Linked DNA regions of Homo sapiens: regions 1, 3, 4 and 5 are each linked to region 2. Evidence: promoter capture Hi-C in 16 types of primary human blood cells and fetal thymus (Javierre and others, 2016). All regions are on one chromosome and are shown on one strand. The core of a region is centred on a gene start or on the middle of the fragment in contact, and the rest is flanking DNA. Distances in the headings are between cores, read along the strand shown.

Evidence for each region. Contacts are between HindIII fragments. The CHiCAGO score rates a contact against its expected background, and 5 or more counts as called.
Region 1: a fragment that was not itself captured here is called in contact with the fragment with the promoter of NCR2 in region 2 in 4 of 17 cell types (naive CD8 T cells, M1 macrophages, M0 macrophages and 1 more); the score reaches 9.3 in naive CD8 T cells.
Region 3: a contact is called between a fragment that was not itself captured here and the fragment with the promoter of NCR2 in region 2, in 2 of 17 cell types (neutrophils and monocytes). The highest score is 6.5, in neutrophils.
Region 4: the fragment with the promoter of TREM2 here is called in contact with the fragment with the promoter of NCR2 in region 2 in 2 of 17 cell types (neutrophils and monocytes); the score reaches 9.6 in neutrophils.
Region 5: a contact is called between a fragment that was not itself captured here and the fragment with the promoter of NCR2 in region 2, in 6 of 17 cell types (neutrophils, megakaryocytes, M0 macrophages and 3 more). The highest score is 9.1, in neutrophils.

The regions. Positions count from the first base shown.
Region 1 is chr6:41,576,057-41,580,580 of GRCh38, reverse strand. FOXP4 (forkhead box P4) reads right to left here. Exons shown (of 17, transcript NM_001012426.2): 3 at 2,500-2,595. Among named protein-coding and RNA genes, the nearest start is that of MIR4641, 20 kb to the left of the region's middle. RefSeq lists enhancers at 958-1,580, 1,581-2,204. The HindIII fragment of the contact is 6,912 bases long and covers 1-4,524 here.
Region 2 is chr6:41,332,707-41,337,295 of GRCh38, reverse strand. It overlaps NCR2 (natural cytotoxicity triggering receptor 2), which reads right to left and starts at 1,688. Exons shown (of 5, transcript NM_004828.4): 1 at 1,368-1,688; 2 at 868-1,209. The coding sequence starts at 1,419. RefSeq lists an enhancer at 2,941-3,070. The HindIII fragment of the contact is 13,900 bases long and covers 1-4,589 here.
Region 3 is chr6:41,109,727-41,114,133 of GRCh38, reverse strand. It overlaps the pseudogene ADCY10P1. Among named protein-coding and RNA genes, the nearest start is that of NFYA, 39 kb to the right of the region's middle. The HindIII fragment of the contact is 5,004 bases long and covers 94-4,407 here.
Region 4 is chr6:41,161,585-41,166,438 of GRCh38, reverse strand. TREM2 (triggering receptor expressed on myeloid cells 2) reads left to right here and starts at 3,323. Exons shown (of 5, transcript NM_018965.4): 1 at 3,323-3,396; 2 at 4,826-4,854. The coding sequence starts at 3,357. The HindIII fragment of the contact is 7,981 bases long and covers 1-3,711 here.
Region 5 is chr6:41,093,359-41,097,891 of GRCh38, reverse strand. It overlaps NFYA (nuclear transcription factor Y subunit alpha), which reads right to left. Exons shown (of 10, transcript NM_002505.5): 9 at 3,395-3,496; 10 at 1-535. The coding sequence ends at 482. It also overlaps a transcript of OARD1 not described here. Among named protein-coding and RNA genes, the nearest start is that of NFYA, 23 kb to the right of the region's middle. The HindIII fragment of the contact is 2,462 bases long and covers 1,182-3,643 here.

The DNA.
Region 1 (4,524 bases), core at 1,462-3,961, 240 kb before region 2:
GAAGAAATAGAGGGATCAATATAGGTAGGGAATCCAGGCTCCTGGGGAAGCATGGCTCCATGGCCCCAAGAACCCCCATATCCCTGAGACCCTGAGAACCATCTGGCCTAGGCTTCTACACCAGGGAAATATTGGCATTATTACCAATATTGTGCCAAGCACAAGGGATCGTCACAATGCAGAGATTAAAAGTGTGAGTTCTACTGGCCGGGCACGATGGCTCACGCCTGTAATCCCAGCACTTTGGGAGGCAGAGGCGCGCAGATCACCTGAGGTTGGGGGTTTGAGACCAGCCTGACCAACATGGAGAAAACCTAAAAACACAACGCTACTAAAACCTACTAAAAATACAACCCTACTAAAAATACAAAATTAGCTGGGCTTGGTGGTGCATGCCTGTAATCCCAGCTACTTGGGAGACTGAGGCAGGAAAACTGCTTGAACCCGGGAGGCAGAGGTTGTGGTGAGCTGAAATCACGGCATTGCACTCCAGCCTGGGCAACAAGAGACTCCATCTCAAAAAAAAAAAAAAAAAAGTGTGAGTTCTGGAGCTATTGGGTTCAAATCCTCACTCTGTCTTTTATTTGTTGTATAACTTTGGACAACTTTCTTAACCTCTCTGGGCCTCAGTTTCCTCATCTGCAAGATGGGGCTAGAATAGCACCTCTCCCATAGGACTGTGAGGATAAATGAGATAGCTGTAAAGCGCTTAGTGTCTACACTTCATGGTAAGCACTCTGTATATGTCAGTTGTTAGTTTGGGATGTACTCAGTAAGTATTTGTTGAATGAATGAATGAATCAATCAATGAATTTTTGGAAGTAATGAGACAAGGAGAGAGAAGGCCTGAGAAAAACATCATTTTATCTGTCTTTCTGACTCTGAAACCTCTAGGCCTCTCTTATTTTGGAGGGAGGGAGTTTCCTAAGGAAGATTCCATAGTCTCCCTTCAGCTCTCAATTATTTCAGATCTGTGACCCTTAATCCCCAGCTGAGCAGTCCTTCTAGATGTCTTACCCCAGTCCCTCCCACTACCATCAAGCTCCTACCCTCCTACCCCTGGGTCAGCAGCCCCTTTCTGGTTTGGGGGAACGTTTGCTGTTGTCCAGCCTACTCCTTCCTGTTCTAAGCTGGGTCCAGGGCGGGCAGGATTCAGAGTGGAAGCCCAAGGACCACTTCAAACCCTGGGATTGTATGTGGGGATCATTAATTTAAAGAGGCCCAATCCTGACCAGCATGGGTATGAGAACCTTTTAGATCTCATTCTGATGAGATCTTTCTCTTCCTCTCTTTATTGACTTTCCAGATTGTGTCTTCCCCTCCTCCACCCCAGGCCACGCCCTGATCTTTGCCCAGCTCCTCCCCTTTGAGGGTTGTCTCCTTAGGGTCAAGAATTTTAAGAGGGTTACTGTTAAGGCTGCACATCTGTTGGGCACCTTGAACTTTTTCCAAACATAAACTTGTTTTACATAAAACTCAGACTTTGTCAGAGCACTGGAATCTCCACCCAGGACAAAGCCTGGTCCTGGGTCCTTCTCTGAGCACCCTGCACCCACCCCACCCTCCTCTTCACTTCCCTCAGCACCCAGCCCCAGACTCCAGAGCACCTCCAGCTCAGAACCAACCATACTCACCCTTCTTCCCTTAGATAAACTTCCTTTCAAAGCCTGGCTTAATCCCTTCCCCAATTCTGAGCCTCCCTCTGCTGGGGGAGGGGTGGGGGGAGCATGGATCCCGGGCTGCTGGGCAGAGGGGGAGGGGAGTGGCTGCCCGAGTAGTGACCCAACCCGGACTCAGACTGCAATTCTCCCAAGTTCTTTGTGACACAAAAGGTAAACAGAAGGCCTGGCTCCCCCACCCCCCGCCCACCCCCCACAGATCTCCCCTCCCCCAGCCAGCCAGATGGGCTGGCAAGCTGGAGGGAAGGGAGAAGGGGAAAAAAGGGCAGATTGTGCAAAGGAAAACAAAAGAGACAGAGAGACATCAAGAGACAGGAAGCATGGAGAGACTGCGAGAGAGCTGGTGGATGAGGGATAAGGGGGGAGGATAAGAGAAGGGGGGACTTGGTGACGTGACTGCAGCAACAGAGATGGCCTGGGAGGGGCTGAGCCCCAGACACAGGAACACAGAGGGACAGAGGGAGTGACCGACAGGGACGCAGAAACATGAGAAGTGACCAAGAGAGACCCTGAAGGGAAGAGGCAGGGGAGAACAAACAGTGAGAGAGGTACAAAGAGACAGGGAGAGCTGCAGACAAACTTTGAGTGACAGGGACAAAGAGGCTAAGCTAGCGGAAGGTCTGGCTGATCAGGTGGAGACGAGAGAAAGTGGGAAGCCTTTTTGCCCCACCCCTGCAGTGACTGTATTTCCTTTGAAAAGTTGCCCACTTTTTGGTGTTGGAACTGGCAAGAGCAGTTCTCCAACGGGTCCTTGCCCTCCCTCTGTGCCAGGCCCACACTCCAGCCCAACCCAGAGCCAGCGGGGTGCTCTCTTCCTCACCTGCACAGCAGAGGCAGACTGTTTGCTGTCATTGTTCCCTGGGGAGCTCAGGCCTGAGGCCTGCTGCAGCAGGAACTGCCGGGCCACTTGGAGAGCCTGCAAGACAGGGGCTGAGTCAGCAATGGCCTGGGAGGCTGGGTGGGATCCAGGGATTAGGGAGTGTTTGGGGCAGTAAGGAGAAGGAGATCAGGGTAAGGTGGAAGGTCTTGGGGGTGAGAGGGTCATGGGTCCATAAGGGCTTGGGGTAAGGGTAGTAGAAGTCACTGAGAAGAGCTGTTGGGGTTCAGGGATCAGAGCCTCTACAGACTCAGCCTGGGACCCAGTGAAGTTTTGTTAGGACTCAATGGGGACAGCAAATGGAAGGGCCCATGGTCAAAAAGGGACTCTTAGAGGAAAATAAAGGGGGTTGACTCAGGGCATTAGTAAATCAGTACTATTTGTTGAGCATCTACTATGGGTCAGGCACTGTACAGGCAAGAGCTTATTTAATCTTCCTCTGTAAGGCTGTAAGGTAGGGATTATTGCCCCATTTTGCAGATGAGGAAACGGAGTCTCCAGGAGGTTAAGTAACTTACCCAGGATCATACAGCTAGGCGGCATCAGAGCCAAGATTTGAGCCCAGGAAGCCTGGCTCCAAGGCCAACTGCCTTACTGGGTGGTCAGTCTGGGGGCTAAAAAGTAGCATTCACTGTGGAGCCAGAGCACACAGTTGGGAGGATGAGGGAAGAGCCCTGGGGTCAGTGGCACAAGGTCTGAGTACCGTGTGACTTTCTGAGTTCAAGGATTGTACATGCATGCTGCTGGAGGAATTAGATTAAGTTCTGAAAGGTATACTATCAGCAGAGATGCATGGACCATCGTGCTGTGGGCTTGGTGGCCACAGTGGCTTAGACTGAACTGAGCCAGAGGGGTCATACGAGTGGGAGGCATATGGAGATTGCTGGAGGAATCACTCCAGTGGGTCAGTGTGACAGTCAAGGAGTAGGAGGGGCCCGGAAGGTAAACTGATGGGCAGTGAGACGTCTGGTAGGAGTGAGGGGTCAGGAGGGCCCAGGAAATTATCTATGAGGCCAGTCAAGCCCTCTATGTCCTCACTATGCTTCAGTGGGAGGTTTGAAGGCAAGTTCTGAATCCACATTTCAGCAGCACAAAATTTATCTGCTTCCAGATTGCTCAAGACCCCCTTGGGAGCCAGTGCAGGTGTGTCTAAGCCCTTGACACAGGGCTCCAACCTTAGGCAGTCCTGGGTCTGAATCCCAGCTGTGCGGCCTGCCAGCTGCGACCTTGGGCAAGTTATTCCAGTTCTCTGCACTTCAGTCTCCTTATCTGCAAAACTGGGAAACTACCCATCTCCAAATTACTAGGGGGATTAAAGGACCAATGTTTGGCATCCAGTTGGCATTCGGGAAGTATTCACTCCCTTCGGCTCTCATTAATCTCTCCACAATTCTCCACTTCACCTCCTCCAGCCTCTCCCCAACATAGCCTCGTGCCCTGCGCACTTATTAGACGAAATGCGCCCGCCTGTGGCTCTCTCTCACATCTGTCCACACATACACTTGTTTTTTCTGTATGGGCCCCTATTCTCCTACCCCACCACAAGCACCTTCAAGGCAAAACCTTTTAAGGTGGGATATGGCTGCACCACCCATCATCGCTCAACAAGCAAAGAGAGTGACCACTGTGTACCAAGCATATACACACAACCACCTTCGCGTCCGTTCATCATCAGTGCAAACAGCCGAGCCTCCTGAGGCTTTAAATCTAGTTTACCCTAGGAGGGCAACTAAATATGCACTGGCCTATTGACGGGAAGGTGTCCTGCAGCAAACCTGGAGCTCAGATTGGTGTGCTCCTCACAGGCCACCCCCACCCCACCTCCTTCCCTGGATGTCACACCCAGAGAAGTGCCCTGGGCTTCCAGAGGGGGACAGGATGTTTCTCCTCTTCCAGATTCACTTCAGAAAGCAGAAATCTGACCTTTCTAAGTCAAAAGGCTCTGCGGAAAGAGGAGGAAGGGTGGGG
Region 2 (4,589 bases), core at 439-2,938:
TCTGATTGTATTCATTAAAATGTAATTTTATGTTTGTCAAATTTAATAAATGTTGGGCTTGTACTTTATATATCTTTTTCTTATTTTTCTAGTAATTTTTTTTTACTGTATTTTACAAAAAAAATTACTCATGTGAATTGCAGATTTTTTTTTAGAAGGTCCTCTTCCACAGGAACTGTGGGTAGCTCTGCTCTGAGCAGGAGTTTGGCACACTTTCTGTAAAGGGTCAGGGATGAGCCATGTGGTCTCTGTCACAGCTGCTCAATTTTGCTGTCACAGCATGAAAAGGGCCACAGACAATAGGTAATTGAGTGGGCATGGCTGTGTTCCAAAAAATAACTCCACTTATAGGCACTGAAATTTGAATTTCCTGTATGTCACAAAATATTGTTTTTCTTTTGATTTTTTTTCACTCATTCTTAGTTTTTTTCACTCATTCTTAGTCCCCGATCTGGACTATGAGGGATACCCATAGTATCTTGGTATCTAGACTACCCAGATACCACTGGCTCTACATGGTGGGGGCAGCCAGTGGATGCACCTTTCCTGGGCACCTACTATGTACCAAAGATGCCGGGTGGTCCTGCCCTCCTGTAGCAGGGTCATATAGGCTGACTGGTCAGCATGCTCACCGGGTCTGTTTCAGCATCTCTCAGGAGGCCCAGGCTGCAGGCTTGGGAGTCATGCAGACTGTGAGATGGCTGCTCTTGTGCACATATGAGTTCCCCCTGCACCTGTTCCCAACAGCCTTCCCAGGAGACTGGGGCGTGGGCATGGGTGGCTTCCACGATTGGGAAACCAGGGGTGATGGAGGCACCAAAAGGGGGTGAGGGGCACCCCTCTGAGGACCCTAGGGAAAGAGCTCACCTGGAGATACCACCAGATAGAATCTGACGGACTTAGAGACAGAGTTGTCAGAAGGGCGGTAGATTCTACACCAGTAATGTCCTGAGTCTTCCTCTCTCAGATCAGTCATGGTGACAGTGAAGAAGCCAGCATCAGGGTCGTCCCAGATTGTGAATCGAGAGGTCCAAGCCATCGTCCTGGGCTTGGAGCTGGTGACTAACCTGATGCACACAAGTGCTGAAGCCTCCTTACACCAGCCTTTCTTCTCGTAGAGACTGCCCGTGGGCGGGTACTGGCATCTCACGGTTAGCGTCTGCCCTGCCACACTTTGAAGTACCTGAGCCTTGGATTGTGCCTGAGAGCCTGGAGAATGATGAAGTAACGCATAGGTCAAGGCCACGCGCACAACCTGCCTCACAGCAGGCCTCTGGCCACAGAGCCACCTGCTCCCTGACCCTGCTGTCCTGACAGTCCCCACCACACCCATCTCCTCTGCTCCCTGGGCTCCTCCTCCCCCTCACCTGGGAACAGCAGCAGCAGCAGTAGCAGTGGGTGTAGGGCTCGCCAGGCCATGTGGTCCTTTTCCTGTGCGCTCATGGGAGGGGACACCTGGAGAAGACTGGGGAGAGGGAATTGGGAGCTGGGCCTGATTCTGCTGCTCTTCCAGCACGTCTGATAGAAAAATGAGACAGGCTGAGGCCTGGGTTGGGGAGATGGGAGACTGCAAAGGGCAGATTCTGTGGGCACAGGGAAGTGGGGATCTCCAGCTGTAGGTGAGTCTGGGTCTGGTGGGCTCGGCGCTGTCTGGCACACAGCTTCCCAGGCCTCTGTAGAAGATGCCTGCTCTCCCCTGTGCCCAGCTGCCCCTCCCCACCATGACCTACCCCTGAGGGAGGAGCTGAAAAGGCCAGGAGGAAACTGTGGGCGAGTTATGGACTGCTTCCCCCTTGCTCCCTCTGTGTGCTGCCTCTCTTCTTTGCAGGGCCCTAGCTTTGCCGCCCTTTCCAGGGAAAGGCAGGCTGAGGGTGGATGACAAACTCAGGGGCACTTGGAACCCTGATCACAAGCCCCAAGCCTCACTGGTCACAGGATGGCCAGGGACGTCATGCCCAGGCCTCCATGGTGGGTCAGTGATGTGCTTCCACTCTGGGAGTTTCGTGGGTGCGGGAAAGGAGAGGGGAGAGGAGGTGGAGATTCAAAACCAGCAAGGGAGGCTAGGGAGGGTCCCTGGCAAAGGTCGGGGAGGGGAGGGTGGGAAGAGCACACGGAGCATGGGATGCATCAGTGGGGTGGGGTAGAGGGAGCCCAGGAACCAGGACCTGGCCTCATCTCTGCATCCTGGACCTCTGCCACTTAAGGACCCTGGAGAAATATTGTTTAATTAAAACATAAACAGATGAAAGACTCTAGCATATTTTTCTTTAGTTAATGTCAGCACTTTGAAGATTCAGTTTTAAAATACGATGCAATTTACAAAGAGAACGAGCTAATATATCTTAGGACTGGTAGAGACACTGTGTGTAATTGCAGTTGCACCACTGGGGGCTCTGCTGGACTGGCGATCTGCTGCCGGGAGCTCTGTGAACAGAGGTAATAACTGAGACGGGAATTGGAACTTGTCAAGTGGACTCGATTCCAAGTCCACTGCTTTGCCTGCCCCTGGACTCCTGCTCTCCACTCCATCTCAGTACACTGCCCTTCTCCTTACAGTAGGAGTATGCAGAGACTGAGAATGGGAAAGGCAGAGGGGTATGCAAAAGGAGGACACAGTAGGGCTATCAGATGTTGGCGCCCAAGGGCCCAAGGTGGGAAAGCAGGCTGGAGCTCCAGAGCTAGAAGACAGCTCAGGGAGCGATGCCCGCCACTCACTCACACAAGCATTATTTACAAAGCATTCTCATGCACACTTTCTCAAGACCCTCAGCAGGTTCGCGAGGGAGACATTACTTCTCTTTTTCACAGATGTGAGAACTGAGGCCCAGATATGGTCAGCCACCTGCTCAGAGTCACACAGGACCAGAACAGGCCTCCTGACTTCGGTCTGGAGCCTTCCGGCTGGTCTGGTTGAAATGCGACCCACAGACATGACAGGAAACCAGGGGTGAGAAAGAGGCTCCCACTGAATTGCACACACAGGCGGAGGTGAGCTTTTAGGGGGTTTCCTCGCCGACAGTGGGGCCCAGCTTCTCCCTGAACATAATTACATACCAAATCAGGGTGGGGGCATCCTCCCGAGGGGGAGGAAGGCGGCCCTGTCCTCAGATGGCACCGAGGCACGTCACCGTGTGTGTGTGTGTGTGTGTGTGTGTGTGTGTGTGTGTGTCAGCAACTGTGTTCCCATGCTGACTTTCCCCTTCTCTGACCCCTGCTGACTCTAAGTGACAGCTCCTTCTTGTAGCTTACAAGAGCACCCCTTGCTATGTGCCACTAGCTGTGTGTCTCTTCAGCCTGCAGCCAGCTCTGTATCGTTCTCTGCTGTGTCAGAGTGTGTCGTCTCTCCCCAGGGGACAGGAGCTCTCAAAGCGGGGAATCTGCCCCTCTCTCTGTGTTGTGGCTTCCCCACCTGTGTGAGTGGGGTGGGCACCCTCCACATAGACTTGGGGCCTTGAGCACCCTAGGGGGAGGCCCCTGCTGGAACCATCTGCACGCTCAGCTTCCTCTGGCATCTGGGACCTGGGGGCAGGGAAGCCTGGGCTTAGGCAGCCCCTCATCCAGGCTGGGACTGGCCCTGCTCCCTGGGGACCCACAACAGCCCTTGTCACAAGTTGAATTTCTGCAGGAGGGACTGGGGCAGGTAGCTGTGGTGGGATCTGGGGCCCTTTCAGAAGTCTCTTGAAGAGCTAGGGATAGTGCCTCCCCCTTGGCACGATCAGAGCAGGGCACAGCAAAGTCCTGTCAAAGAGCCTGGGGTTCTGGGGGATTCTGGGTTCCCTGCCCACCCTCTGAGAAGGTCCCTCAGAGAACTTGGGAACCTCAGCAACCTCCTCTCCCAAACTCATTGTCACACACACTCACAGGAACCCAGAGAAGGAGCTGGGAGAGCTGGAGACTTCATGTACTTGCTTTTCTAGCAAGGCCCAGTCTAGCCTGCAACAGTGGCTCCGAGCCTGGGTAGGTCCATGGGAAGGGAGGGCTGGCCTCTGATGCAGAAATGGGGAAAGCAGGGAGCCGTAGAGGTCTGGAGGTGATCCCCAAAACGCAGCACAGGGCTAAGCTAGGCTGGGCAGGGGTGAAGGGGTAGCTGTAAATTTCCCCCATGATAGAACCAGAAGTAGCAGGGACAAAAGGGAATTTCTCTCAGTGCTGATTTCACAACTGAGGGAGATGAGGTCCAGAGAAGGCAAGTAGCCTTTCCACAGTCACTCAGCTATTTCAGGGCCAAACCAGGACTAGCACCCAGGCCTCCTCTCTCCTGACCTGGTGCTCCTCCTGGGCTCAGAGATTCTCCATGGGCACTTCCTTACTCTTCATCCAGGCTTGCCTTTTGCAGATCCAAGGAGTCTTCTCCCTGAACCCCAACAAGTCTGCTTATACCTCTGACCCCAATGGCTCTCTGCCCCAGCTCCAGCAGGATCCTTCAGTCATCAATTGCCCTGACAGGGTTATTCCTGCTCCCATGACAATGGTCCCATAACAATGGCCCTTCCTGGTCCCAGGATGCCAGGTTCAAAGCATCTGGTCTCAGAGCAGCTTTTTCCCTGCCAGAGAGGTCAGAGGGACCTGAGCTACTGCCCACACAAGGC
Region 3 (4,407 bases), core at 1,346-3,845, 220 kb after region 2:
TGGAAAGTAGTTTTGGGTCTGAGAGCTCATGTAATGCAGAGAGAAATGAGCAATGGTATCTGCTACCGAGGCCACGTAGGTACCTCTGAAGCTTTAGCATCTGCTCAGCATTTCCAAAAATATCTTCCTTAGAACATTAGTTCCTCTGGATGTTTATAGGTCTTTCTGGAGAAAAGTGTTTGATGACCAAGTAAATTTGGGAAATGCTGACTAAAACTAAATATAACAAATTTCTTTCCCATAGCACTACTCAGAACCTTTGATATGTTAATGTTCATTGTGAACCTTGAAGAAGGAAATATAATTTGCATCACTTCCCAAACATATTTGGTGATGAAAATCTTTTCTTTTTTCATGAGCATATTAAGGGAGTAATAACATTCTACCAAACACACTTTGGGAGATATTGAATTAGTAATTATCTTCGAGGGAAAAATCACTGACCTTGAAACCTAGCTTTGAGGCTTTGACATCTGTTTGGCTTACCAGCATAACCTTTCTGGATCTTAGTTTCTTTAAAGAGGTCAAATTTGATGAACTCTAATACCCCATCTAGTTCTTAACATCTATTATATTCTAAACTAAATAAGATGGAAATGACCAAGTTACAGCCTAAGAGTGATGGAAGGCATTCTTAAGGGAATTTTAAGACAGTCTCTAAAGGACAAAGAAATGACTCTTTTAAGAGTAAGGGCCAAGGGTGGGACCTTGAAGGCCATAGGTCAATACAAACTTCAAGAACAGAACAGACCAGCACTGGAAGGGATGGCCCATGTGATGGTTAATACTGAGTGTCAACTTGATTGGATTGAAGGATTCAAAGTATTAATCCTGCGTTGTTTCTGTGAGGGTGTTGCCAAAAGAGATTAACATTTGAGTCAGTGGGCTAGGGAAGGCAGATCCACCTTTAATCTGGTGGGCACAATCTAATCAGCTGCCAGTGAATATAAAGCAGGCAGAAAAATGTGAAATGAGCGAGACAGGCCTAGCCTTCCAGCCTGCATCTTTCTCCGATGCTGGATGCTTCCTCCCCTCAAACATCAAACTCCAGGTTCTTCAGTTTTGGCACTCGGACTGGCTCTCCTTGCTCCTCAGCTTATAGGCAGCCTATTGTGGGGCCTTGTGGTCATGTAAGTTAATACTTAATAAACTCCCCTTTACATATATATATATTTATATATAATATATATTACATATATATATTAGTTCTATATAATATATATAATTATATATACATATATATATTAGTTCTGTCCCTCTAAGAGAACCCTGACTAATACTGCCCAGCATTTCCACCCTGGAGATAAGATTGGGAGGTAGGATATAGGAGTATCTGCAGATCCCACCAAACCTGAAAGAAGTGTTAACATGTATTTGCCTTGGGCAGAGTCTGAGTATCTATTAAGCAACTGTAGCATCTTTCTTATCTCTAAAATAAGGCTTGGATCAGATAATCTCTAAATTCCTTTCCAATAGTAACATTCTATGAGCGTGTATCTATAATTATATCACATTAATAGCATATTCTATTCTTTTGGGGGAGCATTTGCATTTTATAAGAGGCAGGTGGGGGATAAGTAATGAAACAACACAGGATTTGAAGACTGAAGATCTGGGTTTCATTACAAGCTCTGTTATATGCTAGTAACTTCTCTTCTGTGACTTTTATTTCCTCATGTATAAAAGAGGACCTGGGCATAGTGGCTTACACCTATAATTCCAGCACTTTGGGAGGCCGAGGTGGGAGGATCGCTTGGGCTCAGGAGTTCGAAAGCAGCCTGGGCAACACAGCAAGACCTTGTCTCTACTAAAAATAAAAAAAATAGCCCAGTGTGGGGCGTGTGCTTATAGTCTGAGCTACTTGGAAGGATGAGGTTGAGGATGCAGTGAGCCGTGATTGTGCCACGGAACTTTAGCCTGGGAAACAGAGCAAGACTCTGTCTCTAAAAAAAAGTAAAAAATAAAGAGGGATACAAATTTTCACATTGGTAGCATATACTAAAGTATTCTATAAATGTTAAAGTACTATGTACATGTTTGATATAATTTTTATCCATTTTGAATAAGTTGTGGCAAGCAAACCAATCTGATTCGATGTTAACATTGGAAGTAACTATTTTTAAAATTCATTCATGTATACACTTTCTCCATAGCTTTCTATTTTAAAAAGTCAATTGAAAACTTCCAACAAACTTTATCATAATGCAACTAGTGGGAAAATAGATTTTTCTATACCTTCATCTGGGTTAGGTTTTGTGAAAGGTGGTTGGGTGAGGCGTGGATGTGGAAGAGGGAGATCAGTTCAGTGTAAGGTCCAGAAAAAGCAATAAGATCTGGGAAAGACCCAGAATGAAAGCCAAGAGAGTGCTAACCAGCTGTGGTTCCTTTCTATCTAGGTAATTTCTCCACAACTTCTCTCATACTCTCTCGTAGACAGGCAGCCTTTATTCTGCATCCTCTCCACAGGCATGTTATTTGCATCACATTAATTTACACATTTGCTTGTTCCCTTGCAGTGTTCTCGAATCTTGGTATGTCTGTTCTGTTTCTCCCCTTTTCCTGACCCGCTGAATGGGAATGTATCTTTATTTCCCCTGGGTATCCAGTACAGAGATCTGTATCTAGTGATTTCTTAATAGATCTTGTTTGCTCACTTTCCTTAGCATGTTCCCTCCGAGTTAGGCAGATTCTGGACTACTTGAATCCCTGCCACTTGTTACTGCCTCCTACCCTGCCTGAAGAGCCCCTGGGGCCTGAGAAGCTCCTCTCTGCCCCACCTTCCTCCTCAGTTGGTCTTAGCAAGATTCTCCCAGCAGAAGCTGAAGATGCTGAAGGAGCTCTCCAGGGCATGTGCACACTCGTCTGGCTTCTTATCACCAGGAAGGCCGAAAACACAGAGGAACATGCAGCCCTGGGATAGATGACAAACAAAGAAATGAGACACTTACCTGGGAAAGGAATGTGGCTTGCCTAAACTAAACCAGCTCCACCGAATGAACCCAGACCCTATCCTTGAACACTCTTCTGTTGGAAATATCAGATTCTACATGATTCATAAAATGGAAATGCTGGGCCACAGCAACATACACTTTTTTTTTTTTTTTTTTTTGAGATTCTGTCGCCCAGGCTGGAGTGCAGTGGTGCGATCTCAGCTCACTGCAAGCTCTGCCATCTGGGTTCATGCCATTCTCCTGCCTCAGCCTCCCAAGTAGCTGGGAATACAGGCACCCGCCACCACACCTGGCTAATTTTTTTGTATTTTTAGTAGAGACGGGGTTTCACCGTGTTAGCCAGGATGGTCTCGATCTCCTGACCTTGTGAGCTGCCTACCTCAGCCTCCCAAAGTGCTGGGATTACAGGCGTGAGCCACCGTGCCTGGCCAGCAACATAGACATTAACAAAAATCTTGATTTAACTATTCAAAGAACTGAAATTTAAAACACAAGAAAAATTGCTATCAAGAACTTTTCAAAAATTTAATTTCTAGTATATACCTTGAGCTGAGTCTATGTGCCCACATTTTCTTCACCTATAATGTCAAGTGTTAAGATTCTGCTTTTTTTCAAGATCTTTAATTATCTGACAAAGACTTGATTACATTTAATTTACTAATAGAACCAGAAAAACATTCTTTATGCTTTCACAAGGATTCTTCAATAAGAATTCAATAAAAAATGACATGGAGAGTAACCCTCAGTAACCTTGAAAATTAAATTAACAAGAACATCCCAGCCGGGCACAGTGGCTCATGCCTGTAATCCCAGCACTTTGGGAAGCCAAGACAGGCAGATCGCGAGGTCAGGAGATCGAGATCATCCTGGCTAACACGGTGAAACTCCGTCTCCACTAAAAATACAAAAAAAAAATTAGCCGGGCATGGTGGCAGGCGCCTGTAGTCCCCAGCTACTCGGGAGGCTGAGGCAGGAGAATGGCATGAACGTGGGAGGTGGAGCTTGCAGTGAGCTGAGATCGCGCCACTGCTCTCCAGCCTGGGCGACAGAGCGAGACTCCACCTCAAAAAAAAAAAAAAAAAAAAAAAAAAAAAAAAAAAGGAACATCCCATTCCTTAATTAACATTAGTTGAAGTTTTAATGTAATATAGCTTGTTACAAAATAAGTAGCAGGGAATTTGACTTACACTTGCATTATGTGGGAGATCAACTGGTTGTACAAGACCATTACTCCTCACTCACCTTTAATGCTGATGGGTCAAGTTCCCTTGTACTTACTTTCTCAAACATAAAGATCCGACTCAGCTGGCCGCCCCCTTTCTCAATGACTGTGGAGATGTATAAGGCAGCCTCCTGGATAAGATGACACAAATGCAACATCCACGCTGTCCTGTGGAACTCTAGGCTGACCAAAACCAGAGTCATCGTACGGAATTCAGATACATACTCTATAGGC
Region 4 (4,854 bases), core at 2,074-4,573, 170 kb after region 2:
AAATCATAGAAGAAACAAATAAATGGACAGCTGAACTGTGTCCATGGCTTGGAACACTCAACAGTGTTGTCTATTTCCCTCTAAAACTAAACCATAGAGTCAATGCAATCCCAACTGAAAGCCCAACAGATTTTTGGGGGTGAGAAGAAGAGGATTAGAAATCCACAAGCTGATTTTAAATTTTACATGGCAAAGCAAAGTAACTAGAAGAGTCAAAACCATTTTGAAGAACCACTGTTTGATTTTAAGACAGTGTAAAGCTACAGTAAGTTATCAAGACAGTGTGATATTGGAGAAAGAATAGACATATAGATCAACGGAACAGAACAGTCAGAACTAGACCTACATGTCAATTGATTTTCAACAAATACACTAAGGTAATTCAATGAAGAAAAGAAAGTCTTCTCAACAAATTATGCTAGTACAATTGGACATTCATATGTTGAAAAAATTGCAAAGTGCATCTTATACCACATGCAAAAATTAATGAAAAATGAATCATAGACCACAATGTAGAACCTAAAACTATAAAACTTCCAATGGAAAACATAGGAGAAAATATTTGTGACTCTGAGATGGGCAAACTTTTTAACAGAGCACAGAAAAGCACAAATTGTAAAAAGAAAAATCAAGGAATTGGACTTCATCAGAAATAACATCTATCCATTTAGGCTGGGTGCAGTGACTCATGCCTGTAATCCCAGCACTTTGGGAGTCTGAGCCAGGCAGATCACCTGAGGTCACGAGTTCGAGACCAGCCTGGCCAACGTGGTGAAACCCCGTCTCTACTAAAAATACAAAAAAATTAGCCAGGCGTGGTGGCAGGTGCCTGTAATCCCAGCTACTCAGGAGGCTGAGGCAGGAGAATCGCTTGAACCTGGGAGGCGGAGGTTGCAGTGAGCTGAGATCTCACCATTGCACTCCAGCCTGTGTGACAAGAGCAAAACTCTGTCTCAAAAAAAAAAAAAAAAAAAAAAAAAAAAGATGCTGCTAATGCTGCTAAGGAAATGAGAAAAAAAGTTACAGACTAGAAGAAAATATTTGCAAATCACATATCTGATAAAGGACTGCTATCCAGAATAAAAAGAATTTTCACAGCTCAATAATAATGATAATAATAAACAATTAAAAATGGACAGGACAAAAGTTTTGAACTAATACTTTGCTGAAGAAGGTACAGATGGCAATAAACAACAAAAAGATGTCCAATATCGTTACTCACTAGAAAAATACAAGTTAAAATTGAAGGAGATATCACCTTAAACCTATTAGAAAGGCTTTTTAAAACCTGACAATATTAACTGTTGACAAGGATGTAAAAATGGTACAGCCTCTTTGGAAAAGACTTTGGCAGCTTTTATAGACTTAAACATACACTTACATGTGACCCAGCAGTCCCATTCTTAGGATTTTATCCAAGGGTAATAGAAACATATGTCCACACAAAACATATGTACATGAATGTTTATAGTGGCTTCATTTATAATTGTCCCAAACTGGAAACAACCCAAATATCCATCAGCGGGTGAATGAATACGCTACTTGTGGTTCAACCATAGAATGAAAGATGGTTTAGCAATAAAAAGGAATACATTCTTGAGAAGTGAAACTTCACGCATGCTGAATTTATTCTGATGAGTGAATAAAGACTGACCCAAGAGGCTACATACTATTTAATTCCATGTCTATGACATTTTAGGAAGGGCAGGAAGCTACAGAAACAGATGTCAGCTTAGTAGTTGCCAGGCCCTGGATTGGAGAGAAAGAGACTGGCTAAAATGGGCACAAAGGCTCTCGCTTAAGCTAAATGAAACTTTCTATATTATGGTATTGTGTTACACAGACATGGTGATTGTGGTGGTTGTTATAGAGATGCATGAGTTTGTCAACATTTACACAACTAGACATTTAAAAGGGGTAAATTTTTGTATATGTAAATTATGGGCCAATAAACCTGACTTCTAGAAAAAGACCCTAGAAGAGTACCTACAGAGTGATCTTCAGGCAGCCTCAGACTTCAGCCCCCAGGCCCTTGGGGCAAGGCCGGGCAGTTGGCCCTTTGAGTGGAGGCCTGTCTTCTCCTCACTATGAATTCCCCATCTCCAAGCACATTCCCTGTCCGTAAGTTAGATGCACAGTAAATATGAGTAAATAAATGAATAAAAGAACAAATAAGTGAGTGTTTGCAGGAAACTAAAGTAGACCCTGATAATCTACAGGCTCCTGCAGGCTTCTCCAGCCTCTTCTGCCACTCCCAGCACAACTCCATTTCCCACTCCTAGAATTGACTCAAGCCTCCTCCATCCAATCCCCGACTCACTGGGCCATTTCACACTTTTGTGCCTTTGCACACGTGGGTCCCTGTGCTTGGATCACCATGGGAACCTGTACGTGTAGAAAAACACACCCCTACCCCCAGAACTCTGAGAAATATCCTGTCCTGTCCTGTAGGATAGGATGATCAGGAGTTCAAGCATGTGTGTGCACAAAATAAACACCAGTGTGAGCATGTGTGCACAGGAGACACCCAACAGTTCCAAGAAGGCTAAACTTGGGCAGAAAATTCCAGGTGGGAGAGAAAATTTTCTGTCTTATGGACAGCCCATTTCCCTTTTCCCTTCTAACTAGGATAATGGTAATAGTTAGTATTTGTTGAATGCTGTGTGTCAGGCCCTACTGGAAAGCACTTTACCTGTAGGAACCCATATGGTGCTCCTGATAACCCTTTGCACTATCATTATTCCCACTGTATAGATCAGGGAACAGACACAGGTAGGTTTTGGATGTGTGGTTACACACCCAGAAAGTCAGGAAGTCTGGCTCCAGAGCTGTGTACTTAACTGCTGCCACACTACAGGAATGACAGCCCTGGGGGGATGAACTAAGAGGTGCTGGATGAGGGTCCTGGCCTCTAAAGGCACAGCTGTTCTCCAACTCTTGCAAGGCTGAAACCAGAAGATGGCGGGCATTGCAGCTGGTGGAGGGTCTGAATACAGCTGTGAGGATAGTGATCCCTGGGCTAGGCTCTGCAAGGAAACTGAGCAGTGCAGGGCCTTACCAGCCCCAACCATCTGGGGGCCACCCTGGCTGGCACCAGCAGGAGGGTGGGCTGGCTTCTCAGAGGTCTGGGAGACTCAGCCTCCTTCTGCCAGGGCTGCAGTGGCCGACTCCTCCTCCCCTCTGTCCCCACCCTGCACCGCCTCCAGACCCCAGTCCTGACTATTGCTTAATCCCCAGGAGCCCAGTTCCTGTGGGCAGCGCCTGACATGCCTGATCCTCTCTTTTCTGCAGTTCAAGGGAAAGACGAGATCTTGCACAAGGCACTCTGCTTCTGCCCTTGGCTGGGGAAGGGTGGCATGGAGCCTCTCCGGCTGCTCATCTTACTCTTTGTCACAGGTAGGATCCCCTCCGTGCCCTGTGATGCCTTCTCTCCCTCACTTTGAGCATGTGGTTGGGGCGCGGGTGGTGGGCCCTGGGGTGAATTATGAAGGCGGTGGCAGTCCTCGCATGCCTGAGTGCCCTGTTCTGCACTCCTCTCCTCCCCACCCTGCCCATATTCTTCACACCCTCCTTCCCTCCCCAGTATCAAAACCTACCCTCAGACTCTTTCTGCATGTGGACATGTAAGGGGCTGGTGGACTCTGGTTGCATTGGAAGGGAAGGAGTGCTAACAGTGGCATCCCAGGCACTAGCTGGCAGTTGGGGGAAGCTTTGGGGGGCACTGGCACTGGTAATAGCCTCTGAAATTATAAGCCACTAATTATGAGCCCCTACAGTTATAAAGGAGGAAAGAACCTGAGGATGTTCATCTGCATCTTTGGGGCACTCTCTCCCCTGCTCTGAAGGTCCCCTTGTCCTCAGCTCTTGATGGGAGGTGAGGAGCGTAGAGATTTCCGTTGCTGAGTTGAGGGGAATTGACACACCAAATTTTTGTACACAATTGCTTCTTCCCGCTGAGGAAAGCGCACCTTTTGCTCCCCCAGAGCACTGGACAAACCTGGGCAAGAGGAGAGACGGTGCCAAATGGAGTCTTGTTCCTGCAGCTTCTTAGATGGTGGTCAGGGGGAAGGCGGGGTTCTGAGGCATGGATGGGAGGTGGTCAGATGGGAGAGGGCCACGGCCCATCTGGTCTCTCTAGTTCCAAAAGGCAAGCCACCAACTTCCCAATCCTATCTTTCAAGCCTCTGTCACAGTAATGGTTGAAGATGGCAGGCAAGGGAGGACCAAGAGAGAAGTCAAAGCAGGGGGCTCTGGGGGCTGCCCCAGCAACAGGCTGGTGCTCTAAGCCCATCTCCCCCGCCCTAAGGAGGGTTCCCAAAATAGCAGCCTCATGTCTCCCCCAAAATATCTCCGAGACGGGTCCTTCCTGAAAGGGGAACAAAGCCACAGAAATAGGGAAGCTGGAAGTTAAAGGTCAGGAAAGTCGGTACCAATGTGGGCGGCTGCAGAGCAAGCAAGAGTGGCGGGGCAGGGAGAGCCAGCCCCAGGCCGAGAGGAGAGGTCCCAGTCCCAAATGATGGCAAAGAGATGTGCAGAACAGAACTGGAGGGGGTTTTAAGACCAAGTGCCTCCAGAATAGACCCAGAGAAGGTCAGTTACTTCTCCAAGGAGGCCCAGCAAGAGCAACAGTGAGAAAACCAAACCCAGGTCCCAGGTTTCCTGGTTCCCAATTTCCCACAAACACATGCTGTGCCATCCGCTCCCAACTTGTATAAGAACCTAAGCTCCTTCAGGGCAGGATTTTTGTCTGTTTAGGTCACTGCACAGAGCAAGTGTTCAAAGCGTATTTGGTAAACAAAGGAGTGAATGAATGTCTCCTCCCCAGAGCTGTCCGGAGCCCACAACACCACAGTG
Region 5 (4,533 bases), core at 1,163-3,662, 240 kb after region 2:
GAAGCCATCTCTGAATACAAAGCGTCCATTCAGTTAGTCAGTGTGAGATTCCCCCACCAGAGGGATAAATGCTGTCTAGATTCCATGGGAAGGAGTGGGCTGCTGCTTTCCTGATTGCAGTTTTGGTTGAGAAGGTTGTTCTTCCCTGCTGAGATGGCTGGCTGACTTCACCAGTCAAGGTAAGTGCTTTGTGTACTGCTGGGGTGGCATGTGTCTCCTTGCATCATCCGAATCCATGAAATGTCAATGTCATCAACAGTCTGAAATAGGTCCTGACTGAAAGAGTAAGACAAAGGCTTGCAACTTCAATTTGCCAGGCATCGCTGCAATTGTAATACTGAGCCACTTATTAAAAACTAAGTGGTTTCTGTCCTGTAGTAAAGGGCAGAATGTGATCATCAATGTCCCATTGGAAGAGTTGATCAATTTCCTGGAACAGTGAGAAACATGACCTTGATCAGCTCCATCACATGGCGTGGGGTTAGGACACTCGGATGATCTGTGTCATTGCTTCTTCATCGGCTTGGTTTGGATCCTAGAGACAAAGATGACATGATGATTAAAGTCCTTTGCAAAAGCAACAGGAACTCATGGCTCTCACTACTTATCCCCCCAAGAGAATACACATAACTTTACCAAGTAAATCAAAGGCTTGTAATACATCTTAAGTCTGCATACATGGCTTAAAGTGTAGCCCCATTAGGAAAGAAGAGACAATAAACCTTATTCTTAAAATAATTTAAAGTCTGGCCTGCACTCCATGGTGAAACACTGCAGGGCTGTTAGTGTATCTCTTTCCTAAGAACCTTGTGTTGTTCTCTATACTTAAGGGTTAAGAGTATTCAGATTCAGGTGTCTAAGGAAAAGACCCAGAGAAACCATGTCATGCTGTATTTTTGTCACTGTTTTTTGATCATCATTTAAATACTGAGTACTTAGCAGGGCTAGAAAGAATCATTAGAATCTATACACTTTAATGTACTCGTTTTACAGATAAATCTGAAGGCCAGATGGGTAAAGTGATTTGCGTGGACTAGGGTCAGGGTCAGAAAGTTAGGAGTCCAGCAAGGGCTAACTCCCAAATCTCCTGACTCCCATTTCATCTTCTTTCCACTAAACTCTATATGCTGTTTCTCACTTAAGACCTACCGTGTTAACACAAGGATAAATCCTTGGAAGCTTTTTGCAACACTCCGCAAGAACCACCTTTAGTTCCCCCATACCAAGGCTCTGAAGCCTTGGTAGGCAGGATCTGAGAAAAAGCTGAAAGCCTTCTGGAGATGGAAGACTGGAACTGGGTCTTGAACAATGAGCAAAAACAACTAGCATTTACTGAACTCACCATGCACTAGGTATGGTGCTACACAGATGCCTAATGTGGATTACTGAATGAAATCCCTACAACATTGCTGTGAAGTATCAACAGTATTCCACTTTACAGATAAAAATAAAAGAGGCTGAATTGACCAAGATCATATTGTTAGCACACAGAATGAGGAGAGTTCCTGGCACAATGCCCTCCTGCCACAATAGCTGTCAGGCCCACATTCATACACCGTTATGAATGAATAGCAATGAGAAAGGAGGGGCTCTCACACTACAGGTGAGGATTAATAGCACTGAAAGAGTTGTTAGTGTTCATGTGTGGGGACACTGAGGAAACCTAGTTTGATTGTTGAGGGGGTGATAAGGCAAAGTTGCTTAGATGTTATACAGAAATAGTTTGAGATTTGATGCAGTTAAGAAATGAGAACTATTAATAGCATGCATCCTTGACCTGGGGACTGGCAGGTTAAAAAAAACACTTTAACCATGTACTGTATAAGTACTATATAAGGCCAATTAGAGGAGACTGGAGATTAATTTGATGGATATTGCAATAGTGCAAGTGGAATGTGATGTTAATATAGAATGGAGTATCAGCAAATGGGAGGAATCTATTAATTCAAGAAACACTGATTGCTTGGTTCAGAACTGGATACTAAACCCAACAAATACATCTAAGTCAGTACTTAAATACAACTTACTTAAATAGAATTAAGTCCAATAAATATAACAGAGAACGAAACAATCCTCTACCCTCTATACAACTTACAGTCTAGTGAAGGAAACAATCTTGAAAAATTCAACAACTTAAATATTATTACACTGTAAAGAAAAGGGCCAAGTGCAATGGTGTGCGCCTGTAATCCTAGCACTTTGGGAGGCCAAGGCGAGAGGATCGCTTGAGCCTAGGAGTTTGAGACCTGCCTGGGCAACAAAGTGAGACTCCATTTCTACAAAAAATTTAAAAATTAGCTGGGCATGGTGGTGCGTGGCTATAGTCCCAGCTACTCGGGAGCCTAAAGTGGGAGGATCACTTGAGCTGGGAGGTCAAGACTAAAGTGAGCCATAATCACACCACTGCCTCCAAAAAAAGAAAAGATGTTGTAAGAACATACTGAGAGAGAAGAGATCTATTCTAGATAGGGTATTTAATTAAACCCAGACCTAACAGATAGGGAGATAGACATGCATGAAAAAGATAAAGGGCATACAGACTGAAAATTCTAAGGACAAAGACCCGTGGCAGGAAGTAGACCAATGAACAGTAAACAGCAGCATAGAGACCAAGAAGTAGAAATGCAGTTAGAGGTAGACAGGAGCTGGAGCATGTAAGGCTTTGCTGGGCATAGTAGTAAGCACTTTGGATGTCAGTCTAAGTGCAAATGGGAAAGGGTAGGGGTTGAAGGAGCTTGAGCAGAACAGGGACTTGATAGGATAAACATTTTAAAAAGATCACACTAGGATGTGGAGAGTAGGCTAGAGGGGAACAAAAGTGGAAGAAGGGAAACCAAATTAAGCAGCTATTTTATAAATCTAAGCCAAAGAAGAGAGGATTAGACCAGGCTCACATCAGTTAGAAGGGAAAAAAGTAAACATTCAAATTATATTTGTGATGGGGTAATAAAACCTGTTCAATAAAAATAAAACTTGTTCCTTGAAAATTAAGAAAAGTGTGATTTTCAAGAAAGAATGAATAGTAATAAGTGACAAAGACGAAGAGCATCTCAACCCTCCAAGTAGCTGGGACTACAGGCATGCATCACCAGGCCTGGCTAGTTTTTGTATTTTTTTGTAGAGATGGAGTTTTGCCATGTTGCCCAGGCTGGTCTTGAAATCCTGGGCTTCCCACCTCAGCCTCCCAAAGTGTTGGGATTACAGGCATGAGCCACCAAGTCTGGCCTAGTGGTTTTAAGATAAAAGATAATCTAAAGAGACATAAGATTGCATCCAGTTTAGAGAATGTGAGTAGTCCCAGAGTAGGAAAATAGCAAGAGGACACTGCTGAAGGCTTCAACTCAAGTCAATACAAGGTAATAAAGAGAAGAATAAAATGTATATGTCTTCCTACCTGCATATGGGGACTATCCTTTTCCTTTGGAGAGAAAAATCGTCCACCTTCACCACGCTTCCGTGCCATGGCATGACGGTGCCGAGACTCATGCAGGTATTTCTAAAACGAGAAATAAAACCATTTAACTATTAATACTATCCAGAACCAGCACAGTTATCTAGTGCACAAATTCCATTCTCCAAAGTTTAAGACAGCTGGGATCAAAGTCACAAGGGACAATTATGACTTAGAATGACGATGGAAGCTTTGGAGAAAACACCTAGTAAGTAATATAGCTAACCATATATAACTACTGTAAGACTGTGAATGCTTATAGTATGAATTTTTTTTAAAAAAAATAACAGACTACCACCTACACTTCACAATATATACACTTTCCTCTGCTTTAATAACAGGCCAAATTTCGTTTGAGCAAATGAGTGTTCAGTAAAAAGACTTTCCTAGCATTAAAGTTTATTATTATTATTTTCTAGAAACAGGGTTTCACTCTGACACCCTTGCTGTTGGACTGCAGTGGCATGATCATGAATCACTGCAGCCTTGAATTCCTCGGCTCATGTGATCCTCCTGCCTCTGCCTTCCAAGTAGGACTACAGGCATTTGCCACCACACCAGGCTGGACTTTCCTAGCCTTATCTGCATGTTAGGTGTGATCAGGTAACTAAATTCCGGCTAGTGGAAGGTACACAACTTCTTCAAAGTTTCCTTGAAAGAAAGGGTACCTGGCCGGGTATGGTGGCTCACGCCTATAATCCCGGCACTTTGGGAGGCCCAGGCAGGTGGATCACCTGAGGTCAGGAGTTCGAGACCAGCCTGGCCAACATGGTGAAACCCCGTCTCTACTAAAAACACAAAAATAAGCTGGGCGTGGTGGCGCACACCTGTAATCCCAGCTACTCAGGAGGCTGAGGCAGGAGAATCACTTGAACATGGAAGGTGCAGGTTGCAGTGAGCTGAGATTGTGCCACTGCACTCCGGCCTGGATGACAGAGCAAGACTGAGTCTCAGGAAAAAAAAAAAAAAGAAAGGGTACCTTTCTTGTTCCCTTTCTTCCTAGGCTGGAGCCTAAGCAGGAATCTTGGACCATGAACAGCACACTAGCAATATTAAAGCAGTGAAACAGGTCTTGAGAACTG